4 separate regions of the Homo sapiens genome follow, and all the other regions are linked to region 3. Evidence: promoter capture Hi-C in 16 types of primary human blood cells and fetal thymus (Javierre and others, 2016). All regions are on one chromosome and are shown on one strand. The core of a region is centred on a gene start or on the middle of the fragment in contact, and the rest is flanking DNA. Distances in the headings are between cores, read along the strand shown. Region 1 has its middle 170 kb from the start of CENPW. Region 2 overlaps TRMT11 (tRNA methyltransferase 11). Region 3 holds the start of RNF146 (ring finger protein 146). Region 4 overlaps TRMT11 (tRNA methyltransferase 11).

What was found. The method cuts DNA at HindIII sites, captures the fragments that hold promoters and counts their contacts. A CHiCAGO score of 5 or more calls a contact.
Region 1: a contact is called between a fragment that was not itself captured here and the fragment with the promoter of RNF146 in region 3, in 1 of 17 cell types (M2 macrophages). The highest score is 5.5, in M2 macrophages.
Region 2: a contact is called between a fragment that was not itself captured here and the fragment with the promoter of RNF146 in region 3, in 2 of 17 cell types (total CD8 T cells and naive CD8 T cells). The highest score is 6.1, in total CD8 T cells.
Region 4: a fragment that was not itself captured here is called in contact with the fragment with the promoter of RNF146 in region 3 in 1 of 17 cell types (M2 macrophages); the score reaches 6.0 in M2 macrophages.

What each region holds. Positions count from the first base shown.
Region 1 is chr6:126,173,677-126,176,522 of GRCh38, reverse strand. It overlaps a transcript of TRMT11 not described here. Among named protein-coding and RNA genes, the nearest start is that of CENPW, 170 kb to the left of the region's middle. The HindIII fragment of the contact is 4,515 bases long and covers 1-2,846 here.
Region 2 is chr6:126,003,060-126,005,913 of GRCh38, reverse strand. The region is part of intron 7 of TRMT11 (tRNA methyltransferase 11); the gene reads right to left. Among named protein-coding and RNA genes, the nearest start is that of TRMT11, 18 kb to the right of the region's middle. The HindIII fragment of the contact is 779 bases long and covers 1,099-1,877 here.
Region 3 is chr6:127,265,325-127,268,282 of GRCh38, reverse strand. RNF146 (ring finger protein 146) reads right to left here and starts at 1,419. Exons shown (of 3, transcript NM_001242850.2): 1 at 1,358-1,419. RefSeq lists an enhancer at 731-790 and silencers at 991-1,260, 1,361-1,460. The HindIII fragment of the contact is 5,432 bases long and covers 1-2,491 here.
Region 4 is chr6:126,039,096-126,041,795 of GRCh38, reverse strand. It overlaps TRMT11 (tRNA methyltransferase 11), which reads right to left. Exons shown (of 13, transcript NM_001031712.3): 13 at 2,520-2,700. Among named protein-coding and RNA genes, the nearest start is that of TRMT11, 54 kb to the right of the region's middle. The HindIII fragment of the contact is 4,354 bases long and covers 1-2,700 here.

The DNA of each region.
Region 1 (2,846 bases), core at 273-2,772, 1.1 Mb after region 3:
ATTGCACACTACAAAGAAGGAACTGAGGTCCTTTTTCTAGACAAGATAACCCACCACCTCCCTCAAGTGGTCAGTTGGATTAGTTTTCTGTTTCCAGAGCTGACTATAGTTATTTCCAAGAACTATAGAGTCATGTATAATGGCTGGGTTGAATGGACCTTTTTTTCTTTAATAAATTGATTGGATTTTAGGGTGAAGTGTGCTGACTATATTAAATTGCACTATATTTTAACTTCTCTATGTCAAAAGAAAAAGACACTTAACCAGGGGCTAGCAGTTGTTTACAGGGCTGGCCAGCTCAGGATTGCTTTCACTGTGGCCTTTGCCTTTCCTGCTAAGAGCTTAATCCAAACTTCATCATTTTGACTTCCTTAAAGTCTTGTACCAATTTCTTTTTCACTAGAGCAAAGGTGTTAATTCCTGCTTCCTGAACAAATTGGCGTTTCAGTGATTACACATCACCCAGCAAAACTTGCTTAATGATGTTATTTCCTAACCAAAACTGAAAACTTTTTTAAATGTTTCCTCAATTAATCTCTGAGAAAGGGGATAAGGGGTGGAGAGAGGGAAAGGAGACCCAGGGTGTCTTTCTGATGAGCAGCAGTAAGTAAAATTCTCAGTGTTATCTATAGTTAAATCATTTTCAGGGCATTTTGTACCAAAACATCATTTCAGGAGAAATTTATGAAAATCATTGCTTTAAGTCATTAAGGCTAACTTTAGTTCTAACAATCCCAGAATAAAATATCCAACAAGGATGTCTGCAGAGTACTAAACTGAATAAAGATATATGAGTTGATGATATTCATGCTTTCTAATAGTAACTAAGTAAAATGCCTTTTCTGTATGTTCATTCCTCAGGTTTGTGAAAGGATGAAAGGAACTGGAAAAGAAGTCAGCCGGGAAGCTAGGTATCAGAGCAAACATAATGAAATAGACTTTTGTTGCCTTTAGTGTTTGAATAATGCTTATCCAAAGTTTTCAAGTTGATTTAGATAACCTAGCAATCAGCTAAATCAGATATTTGAGGGCAGTTTTTAGCTTTTTCTTTTTCAAACCCAACCACAAAATAAACTAACTCTTGCTACAAAAACAGTCAGCCTCTCTGGTATTTTGGCTCCACAACTCACATCTCAATGAAGCCAAACCCCTAGGAATGAAAAAATATCTACAAATGCACACAAAACTTACTAAACCTATGTCAGAAAAGGGCCAAGTGTGTCAGGTTGGAGAGGACCCTGTACACTCTAATCTCAAAGTAGATCAAGCTATAGCAGGTTTAATTCTTCTATACCTTGATCTATTGCTAAGCCCCTCCAACTATTATTGACAAGAATACCTGGGTTCAATCACTGTCCCAGTACCAGGGGTTTGAAACAGTAGAGTGGACAGACACAGGAAAAGTAGTCAATGATACAAAACATTCCAATATGTGTATCATACTGGCTGAAGGTAATATGTTAACATCATAGTTGGATAGTTTGAAGCCAACTTAGGAAAGCTGCAGCAACTTTGCACATACAATATGCTCCTTTTGATACAACATTCTGTAAGAAATCATTTTCTGAGCTTTGGTTGTTATCATCAAGAATGGATGTGGTTGGGACTCACCAGGGTGCTCCATTTCTGTCATTTTCTCTTTTTGCGACTCACTCTTCTGCTTCTCAATCTGCTCTTGCTCTCTCACTGTCTTTTCCTCTGAAAATTCAAAGGCACAATTATAGCATGAAGTTGCAAAGGTTTTTTACCTTTCACCTGCAAGGAACTAACAGGCAAGGACATTCAGGGTGGGGATGTAGACCAAAGAGAAAAATTCCTTTAACTAGATATAACCTTAATTGAAGAATTTTGACTTGTCCACAAGAGATCTGTGATAATGGAATCAAATACTGTTCCTATTTTACAAAACAGAAAGCATTTATATTAACTGCCAGGGAATAAACACCTCTGTTTGTTTTTTGTGTAAAGTGCTAAGTGCCATATAGGCAAGCGTGGTTAGGAACAGTGTGGCTTTAAGGTCCTGAGGCTGAGAGAAGCATCAACATTTTCCTCATTATTTGGGTAGAATGCCATAAGGAAATTTCCATATTTTGGTAAATTGAAGGGCATGGTAGCCCAGCAGATGTCAAGAAGTACAGATACGAAATTCATACCCTGAAATGTCTGGCAGCTTTTTGTGGGCTTCCTGACATTTAACCAGCAAAGACTGTAGATGTGTCTGAAATAAGACTGTTCCTTTGCTTTCTGTGACTTAGACTTTTCTGGGTTTGGAGTCTTCTGGGTTTAGAGTTTGTAAAATAAAGATCAGAATGCTTGCAGCTACACCTTCACCAACACTCCACCAATGCCATTCCTGAGGATAGCCTATGAGGAGTGGGCGACAGTGGGGAGTGAGAGGCTGCAGAAAGGTGAGGAAGGAACATGTGTTGCCAAGGCCAGTGCTCCAAATAAAAACATCAGGTTCTGGGATGGAACTTGAGATTCTGCATGTCCAGCAAGCTCCTAGGAACACACTTTGAGCAGCCAGGACCTTGGATCAGTGCTTCTCACACTATCTGTTGAGAAGGAATAGCTCCCCCACCCACATGATCCCAGGCAGGACTCTGCTCTTCTGTTCCCCAGACATTCTCCTGGGGCAGAGAAAGAGGCCACAGTGACATGACACACTAATCACTTCTGCAGCACACCAGGAACCAGATGCACCATCAAAAATTCTGCTGGTTTCCAGGTTGGGCATATGAGGAAAAAGACAAAAAGAATTCTTCACTTCACTGCTTGAGGCCACACAGTCTCTGTAACACACTGAAGGATGCTAAGTTCCTTTGGTTTTCCTGCAAACAACCGCT
Region 2 (2,854 bases), core at 239-2,738, 1.3 Mb after region 3:
CCAAGGAGTATACATTAGTCTTCTGGGTGAATTCTCATTACTGGAGGAGCTGACTCACTTGACAGAGGGGATGAGAGGGGATCAGATCTACGGCTGCAGAGTTCTGTGCTACCTAAAGCAACTGGCATCCACTTGCACATATTAATTATAAACAAAGAATTTGACATTTATAATTTTATATTTCAATTCCCTTGCCTGCTGCTATAACCTGCCAACAGTTGCAAATTACTAATATCTTGGAAATTAGCCAAAAAGAGTACTAGAAAATGAGTTTATGGTCAAATTCTTTATCATCACCATTTAATATTAGCTACATCTAACATCTTTCACCAAAAAGGCATCTAAAATATCATCAAAATAATAATCAAAAAGTAATAATGATAACCATTACAGTTCACTAAATGTCTACCACGTGTCAGGCAACTTCCTAGAAATATGATATACACATATTGCCTCACTTAATCCTCACAATATATTAGTATTACCATTTTACAAATGATAGACGTGAAACCCAGACAAGTTAAGAATCTTGCCCAAAGTCACATACTAATTGGTAAAAAGATTTAAACTTTGCTCTATTTATTCTTTTCTTTATATCATACTACCTCCTTTGGGATTAGCACCAATTGAAGTAAATACATATTCACTCACCAATTAGATAAACAAAAGCAAAATATGCTACTAAACAAATTACATTAAATTAAGTAAAGCTACACACTCTGTTAATAAGAGTGTTATATATGCCATTCACAAGTCTTGTACTGTATCACAGACAGGGCTGTGCCATTAATAGGTATTCAATAAATTCATGATGATCATTCCTTTAGCCAAACTCACATGAGAATAGTAGCACTTCCTAACAACTAAGAGATGACACAATGCTATGTCTCTTCCCCTTTGGGAAAGTGGAGACACACACTTTAAAAAAAGAATTTTTACTAAAATGAAAACCAATGTATTTGTTAAAATTGAAAGAAAAGTGTGTTTCTGCCGCTCATAATGTCATTCTAAACAACAGTAGCAAACAGTCTAAAGGAAAAAAGGAAAAGTATTTAGGCATGAAAAGATTATTTTTCTCCTTTCAGTCTCCCAGAAGCTTTCTACCCTACTCTATATCCCTGAGAAAAATCACGAACCATGAGTAGTAAGTGAGCAATACATTTGGGAAACTACATACATTTCAATTTTGTACCTTTAAAATAAAAAGGGGATTAGACACATGAATTTTTTTTAAAAAACTATTTAAAAGGCAACCAAAAGAAAAATATCAACAAATGTTTTGTGAAAACTATGGCCATGGAGAAGGACACAGAGCTACGTATTTCTCCAGTCCTTCAGAAGGTACCACCCATCGATGAGGCAAAAGGCCCAAGAGAGGACAAACTGTGCTTAAGACCTGTGTCTATTCACAATTATTGGTTATTATGTTTCAAAACAAAAGCACCAAAAATTGACTGATGTCCTAAAGCTATACTTAAACTACAAACACAAATTACGAAAATATATTTCAGCAGCACCTTTGCAAAGATCCTCCTCTCATTTTCTATTAATTGTACTATATGAACAGTCAGACGTTCCAAATATACTACCCACTGTGAGGAGCTGCCCTAAAGCAAACAGAAGCAGGTCTCCTTGCCCCTCAACACACTATAAATGGTCCATATATTGACAGCTGTGAAGATAATTTCAAAATCTAGCCTCATCTACTCAACAAAAAAATATTACCCATACTGGCAACCATATTTTTTAACTCTGTGGTCTAGTCTATGTGTATGTATATATATTAATCATTTTCTACATGTATATATCTAAAAGAATTATTCTCAATTGACAAAAAAAGTTTTTAAAGTCCAAGAACAAGATTAAGAATAAAAGCTTTAGCATTTGGAAAAAGGTAAATTAAATCCATTCTTCACATCATACTGGAGAATAATCTCCAAATGAACCAGAGATCTAAAAAGAAAAAATGTAAAACTACAAAAGCACTAGAAGAAAACACAAATGAATTCCTCTATAACTTGAGTGTGGGGAAAACTTTTGCATGGCAAAAATCAATTAGTAGCAAAGTCAAAAGATAAATGACAAGCTAAGGGAAAATACTGCAGCATACATCACAGAAAAATAAGGGGAGTGTGAGGAGGTTGTATCTCAAGCTTACAAAGGACCTTGAAAAATCAGGGAAAGAGACCAAAAATGCTATCAAAAAATGGGCAAAAGACAAAAAAAGACAAATCAAAGAAAGTCATAATGGCCCTTAAAATATAAAAAATTGTGATACTTCATTCGTAACCATAGACATACAAATTAACACTACATTGAGATATCATTTTTCACCCAACAGAACAAGCAAAACTTCAAAAGCCTGAAATATACTCTGCTGGTGAGACTGTGGAAAAACAGGGACTCTCCTACAACTGTTGGTAGGAATCCAAAATAGTATAATGGAGACAAATTTGGCAGTATCTAATGAAACTGCATATGCATACACTCTTCAACCCAGAAATCCTACTTGTAAGAATTTACCCTAGGACAGAGGGGTCCAATCTTTTGGCTTTCCTGGGCCACATTCGAAGAAGAATTGTCTTGGGCTGTACATAAAATACACTAACACTAATGATAGCTGGTGAGCTAAAAAAAATTGCAAAAATTCTCATAACGTTTTAAGAAACTTTACAAGTTTGTATCAGGCCACATTCAAAGCCATCTGGGCCACATGTGGTCCATGGGCTGCGGGTTGGATAAGCTTGCCCTAGAGCTACATCTCCAACATTACAAAGGTATATATTCATAAGGTTAGTCATTTCAAGCATTATTTGTAACTGTAAAATACTGAAAACTACCGATGTCCAACTAT
Region 3 (2,958 bases), core at 170-2,669:
TCTATAATTATATACTGGATTGAATGCCAATATTATACGTTCACATCCCATTTGAAAAGTACACACACGAGGTGGGGGGGATGTGCCCACTACCTGAAATGCCAATCATACAAAGAACAAAGCGTACCCTATCATCTTTGGGCTTTCTTCTCTCCTCAGTTCTACACTGTTTCGATATTACAAAAATATTAAACAAAATGTTCAAAACTTGAGAAATAAGTGCTCACTAAAATGGCACTTAGAGAAAATAAATTAAAACATATACCAATATGATTAACGAGAAAAGATTCTAGTTGCCAGGATGTGTGTGTAAACTTACAGTCCTGTAGGTTTTACCTGTGGAGAGGACGGTTCCGTCTCCACTCTTAAAACAATTTTACATTCTTTAGAAGCCTTAGCAAAATAAATAGCGACAACAATGGAAGACCCACACTCCTTCAGACGGGATGGAGGGTAGGAAGAGAACTCCCCACCCAACAATCAGAACAAAGCAACAGCCTCAGCTTTTAAGATGCAGAGGGTTTGGAGGCTCAAGGGATATTCTGAGATCTCTTAATTGTTCCGATGCTTCAACAGCCGTCAAAAACAACTAAGAATATGCAGCGCTGGGCTTCACTAGGACAAGGTGCAGGGATTGCTCTCTTCGTTTTAGGCAAGACCGAGACACTGAGCAGGAGAAAAAAAAGGAGGAAGAGCGAGAGAAGAGAAAGCAGCAGCCAGAGACACTCCGGGAAAAGGCAAAAATGCAGACTGTACGCCCTGGCTTCGATCTGACCCAAGGCCCAAACTGTCTGACCCCACACGGGAAAACATGGAGCAGGCTACCGCCGAAAAACCATCGCCGCCCCTACACCTCGAGGCCAGAAGGTCCCCGGGTAAAGGCCTAAAACCACGGCCCAGAGGGGAGGAGAGGGACCCGCCTGCCACCCGAGGCAGCGAAGCGGGCTCAGGCGGAAGAGGCTGCGCAGTAATGGCCGCTGCTCCGCCCCTCGCACCCGGACCGAGACCAGCTCCGGCCGTCACCCAGGGCAGGGGCTGCGGCGCCCTCGGGCAGCGCAGGGGCTGTCACGGTCGTCTTGCCTGCCCCAGCAGCCAAGGCGGGGGTGGCGGAAAGGGCTGAACTGTCCCATCCCGCCTCTGCGCGGACAGCCGGGGCCGCGCCAGCCCAAGGGCGTCCATCTACGTACCGGCCCCTGACCCCGCCGCCGCCCCTCTCAGGCCCCGAGCGCAAGGCCGACCCGGAGTACGTTGCGGCTGGAGGTGACACCGCGAGCTATGCCTCCTCTCCCCGAGTGAGGATCCTAGAGTGGCCGGCGTTCACCCTGCTCCCCCGAGAGGGCCTCGCTCCGACTCCCACCTCTCCGGCCACAGCTGCGGCCACCTCGCAGTCTTTTCTCTCTGGCCTCGGAGCCCGCAGCTGCCGGGAACGCGCGCGGCCGTCACGTGACCACCCGGCGCGTCGCGGAGGAGGGGCCGCGACGCGCCGCGCACCCGCACCCGCACCGGCGAGCTAACTCCGGCGCCTCATCGTTCTGCCCCTGTCTCGCGCCGCTGTCTGCCGGTACTCTCTTGCCTGTGGGGAGCGGCGACTTCGCTGCTTGCATTCTTCTGGCTTCTTTAGAGTGTGCTTGCTTTGTATTAGGGCCCAGAGGCTCTGAAAGAGTGCAGTTCCAACAGAAAGAGATTTGGGGTGGAGGAAGTAAAACGTGTGTAGGACCAGCAGGTGGTGCTGCTCAAAAATCCAGCTTTGCTATCCTGAGGAAGCTCTGGGGCGCCTAGCTGAGTTTCGGCTTAAAGATCCCTTAGCAAAAGTACTGCTTGTTCCCTTTCAAGAAAAAAAATGGGGAGGGGGGGGACGGAGGGGAGAGAGTACTGTAGGACTTTCCAATTTGTTCTCCTTTTTAATGGTTGAGCAATTTAATCGGGGAAAAAATGAGTATTAGTTTTCTTTTGAAACCCCACCCTTTTTTTAAAAAAAACAGAATAGTGCCTGAGAAACTGAAGAAATTAATCTGCATGATAATCTAAAATTAAAGAGGTTATTTTGATCGCAAGCCTGTGGTTTTAAACATCAGAACTCTAGCAGTAATTCACCATTTTAGCATGTACATTTCCTTTTTCAGAACTGATTAAATTTTCCTAATTTGTAGGAAAATGAAGAGGGTGGAAGAGCAGACCTTTTATCTTTAGAAGAGTATGTATTTCAACATTCTATGACAGCGTCTTCTCATTTGCATTAGTGTTGCATTTTGGGATTTCATTAACTGTTTGATTCAGGATTGGAAGTTTTCAGTGTCCTTATAGGTATAGAAATGTATATGTTTTCTGTTATTCCTCTGAAATCAGTTTATTTCAGGGTTCTCATTCATATATATCAATATGTAACCCAATCTCTTGAAGGGTGCATCTAGTTCAGTGATGCTTGCGCGTGTATGCAATACTGTTCCATACATGTAGAAATATTGAAGTGTATATCCTTTAACTTTAAGCTTAGTTTTCTATCTTTATCTTCTTATTAGCCACTCAGTTTTGTCCCTCTATCCTACACAGCCCATGAACAGAGAATAGCTAAAATTTGATATGTACTCGAAGATTCCAGCTTGAAGAGGTAATGCTAATATTAACTAACAATGTGCCAGGTGTTGCTCTAAGTGCTTTATTCATATATACCCACTTAATTCTCATAATAAACTATGAGGTAGGCACTATTATTATTCCCATTTTACAGAGAGAGAGACACACACAGCTGAGATTTGAATCCAGGCACAGACTGTAAGATGTCAGCTAGTTCAACCCCTTCTCACTCATACCCAAGGTCTTTGTATTTCAGTAAATGGTTGCATCTTTCCTTGTTCAAACCCACCTTTAACTCCTCTCTTTTATGTCTTATATGCATTTGGCATATAACCTGTTGGCTCTTCCTTCAAAGTATATCCAACTACTTACCACCTCCGCTAC
Region 4 (2,700 bases), core at 56-2,555, 1.2 Mb after region 3:
TTGGTCAAGCAGGTCAACAATAAGGTCATCAATTGCCTTGGCAACACTCACCTCCATTTCCACCACTGCAATGCATTAATGAGTTTATTTATGCCTTGCTTTATCTACAAAGAATTTTTTTCCTGTTAGAACTATTAACATGAGCCTAGTTCCACTGTGCTTTTTCAAGGGAGATTTATTACAATGGGATGGAAAATAAGATCATTTCCCAAAAAAGTCACCTTCAGTTTTCAACAGAGAAACATTATGTTTTATTCCATATCTCTTTGGATAAGCAATATTTGATAATATTTCCAGCATAAGATGTCAGCAGTTCTTCTAACACCAAACGACTAAGAACTTTTATTCAAGAGCCAGAGTTGCTTATATTGGCATCTATATAACACAACCTCAACGTCTAATTTCCTGGTGTTGAAAAAAAGTCAAATCCCTGCTTCTTTAATTTACGAGTATAAAACATATTACCTTAAAAGCTATTTCCATGTCTCAAACTTTTAAAGCACAATTTTAACCCAATAAAATAAACACACCCACTACAATGCCTCCCGTGATGTTAACACATACTCTACTTTCCCCTACAAAACTTGAAATAAGGTTGTTGTTGTTGTTTTTTGTTTTGTTTTTACTTATAATTGCCATCCTTCTTAAATATGTAGGGAATCTCAATATTTGAGTGAGTTTTCTCAACAAGGAAATAGTGGCAATACTGACTTACCTCCCAGAGCTTAAACAGTTTGAAAATGTTTTATTGCTCAATCCTTGTATTTAAAGAGTTAGTCATAAGGAAATCAGTGGCAAGCTGGCCCAAAGCTGGGTCACCCTGGGCAGGAAGTGGCTGAGAAAATTGTAGCAGATTTTAAACTTTTCAAAATCTGCTGGCCACTTTGGCTAAACACAAAGACCACCTACTCCACTATTTCCTCCCAGCTATTAGAGCAAAAAGTACTCACCAGAATAGACGGGAAGGAGGCACCTCTGATGAACACCACCAAGGTAACCGTCTGGAGTTTATGGATATTTAATATATGCCAGAAACAAAATTATACATTTTGTCATATTATAAACATTAAAATAGGCCAGTCCACAGACCACCTAGAATTCCTTCACAGATTATACTGTAAATCCAAACTACAGGACTTTCTGAAATGCAGGCAATTTGCTAGGTGATATTGTTGCTGTAAGCACATGAGGAATACAGTGGTAACATAGAAAACCAGAGCAATCCTGGAAAGGATCTGCTGTAACTTACGCCGAAAGTAATAAGATCCTAACGCCAAAAAATAAAACTCTCTCGTTAAAATAAGAGGGCTTGAGACCTATGCTCTAAAACCAAAATAGTTTGGAAGTAATCAGGTTTCTTTTTTATTTATAAGTACCAACTAAACAAATTATACTCTGAGCCTAGTGACATTTCAGGAATGGGAAACTGAACTTCCTGATTAATACAAAAATAAGCCTCATAATAGGAATCATAGTTTAGAAGACCTCAATTAGTAGTAATAACAAATAATTTCAAATATTTTTTAAGTGTTGGATAATTTTTAAGGATAATGTGACTAAAATTAATATTCCAACTTTCCAGAACTATTTGGACTAATCTTTGTGACCACCCAAAAAAGGGGCTAAGCTAAAATCTCATATTCCAAATTGAGTCAGTGACAAAGTTTCAAACTCACCTCCCATATAACCTCGAAACATTTTAAATAAGATGGTTTAAACAGAAAAACTGAAAATAAATCATCCTTGAATACTTTTAGATTTCCCCCCAGTGTACCACAAATCACATCCAGAAACCCAAACAAAATAATCAGTGAAATGTTTGAGATCTGCTGCTGAAATCCTGAACTGCAAGACAAGAAAAAGAGAGCAAAGCAGATAGCCTGATGTCTCTTTGCTTGGGCAGCACTATACTTTTAGAGGTCCTAAGCTGTGCACATTAATACTCTGAGTCCATAAAAGTCAGCAGTAACACTAAAATAATAATAATAATAAATACAGGCTCTGGTTAGAGAGAGAGGATCCATTTACTGCCACCCTGCTGAGGTACATTTGACCACCAAAGGCAAGAAAGCTATTAGCATCCTGAATTAATGGGTATAGTGGTTTTCAAGCAAGATATTTTCATGATGGACACAATGTGGACTCAGCAAAGTTTCTCCTTCAAGAAAAATATAGCTTCTATTTCAAAGGGCACTGATTAGGCTTAATACCATTAAGGAACCATCAAGCATTTGTGTTGCTGTTACTGCTTTTAACTATCCGTTACTTTCTAAACCAAAAATTGTGGGTAGTTAACTTGAGCAACAGTCAACGGTTAGGAATGCAGGAGCAAATCCAAGGTACAAAAGAGCTTCAAATGTAGACAGGCCTTAAGGAGTTTGGAATCTTTCTAGGTTGTCAGGTCTTAGCCTTTCTTATCATCACTATTAGCATTGTTATTCCTTCCTTGTCTGGAATTTCTAAATAAAAATTTATTTCCCTCATCACATCCCCCATGAAGACAACTAGATATGACACAATTTTAGAAATTCTCAATATGGTTTATTAGTGGCAATGTAAATCGATGACAACCAAAAACCAAATAAACATATCTACCAAATGAATAAATTCTTAACTACTATTAATTGCATATAATATATCCAGCAGATGTTTTAAAAGTCAACAATATTAATTCCCTTTGTAGATTAATTGTAAAAAAAT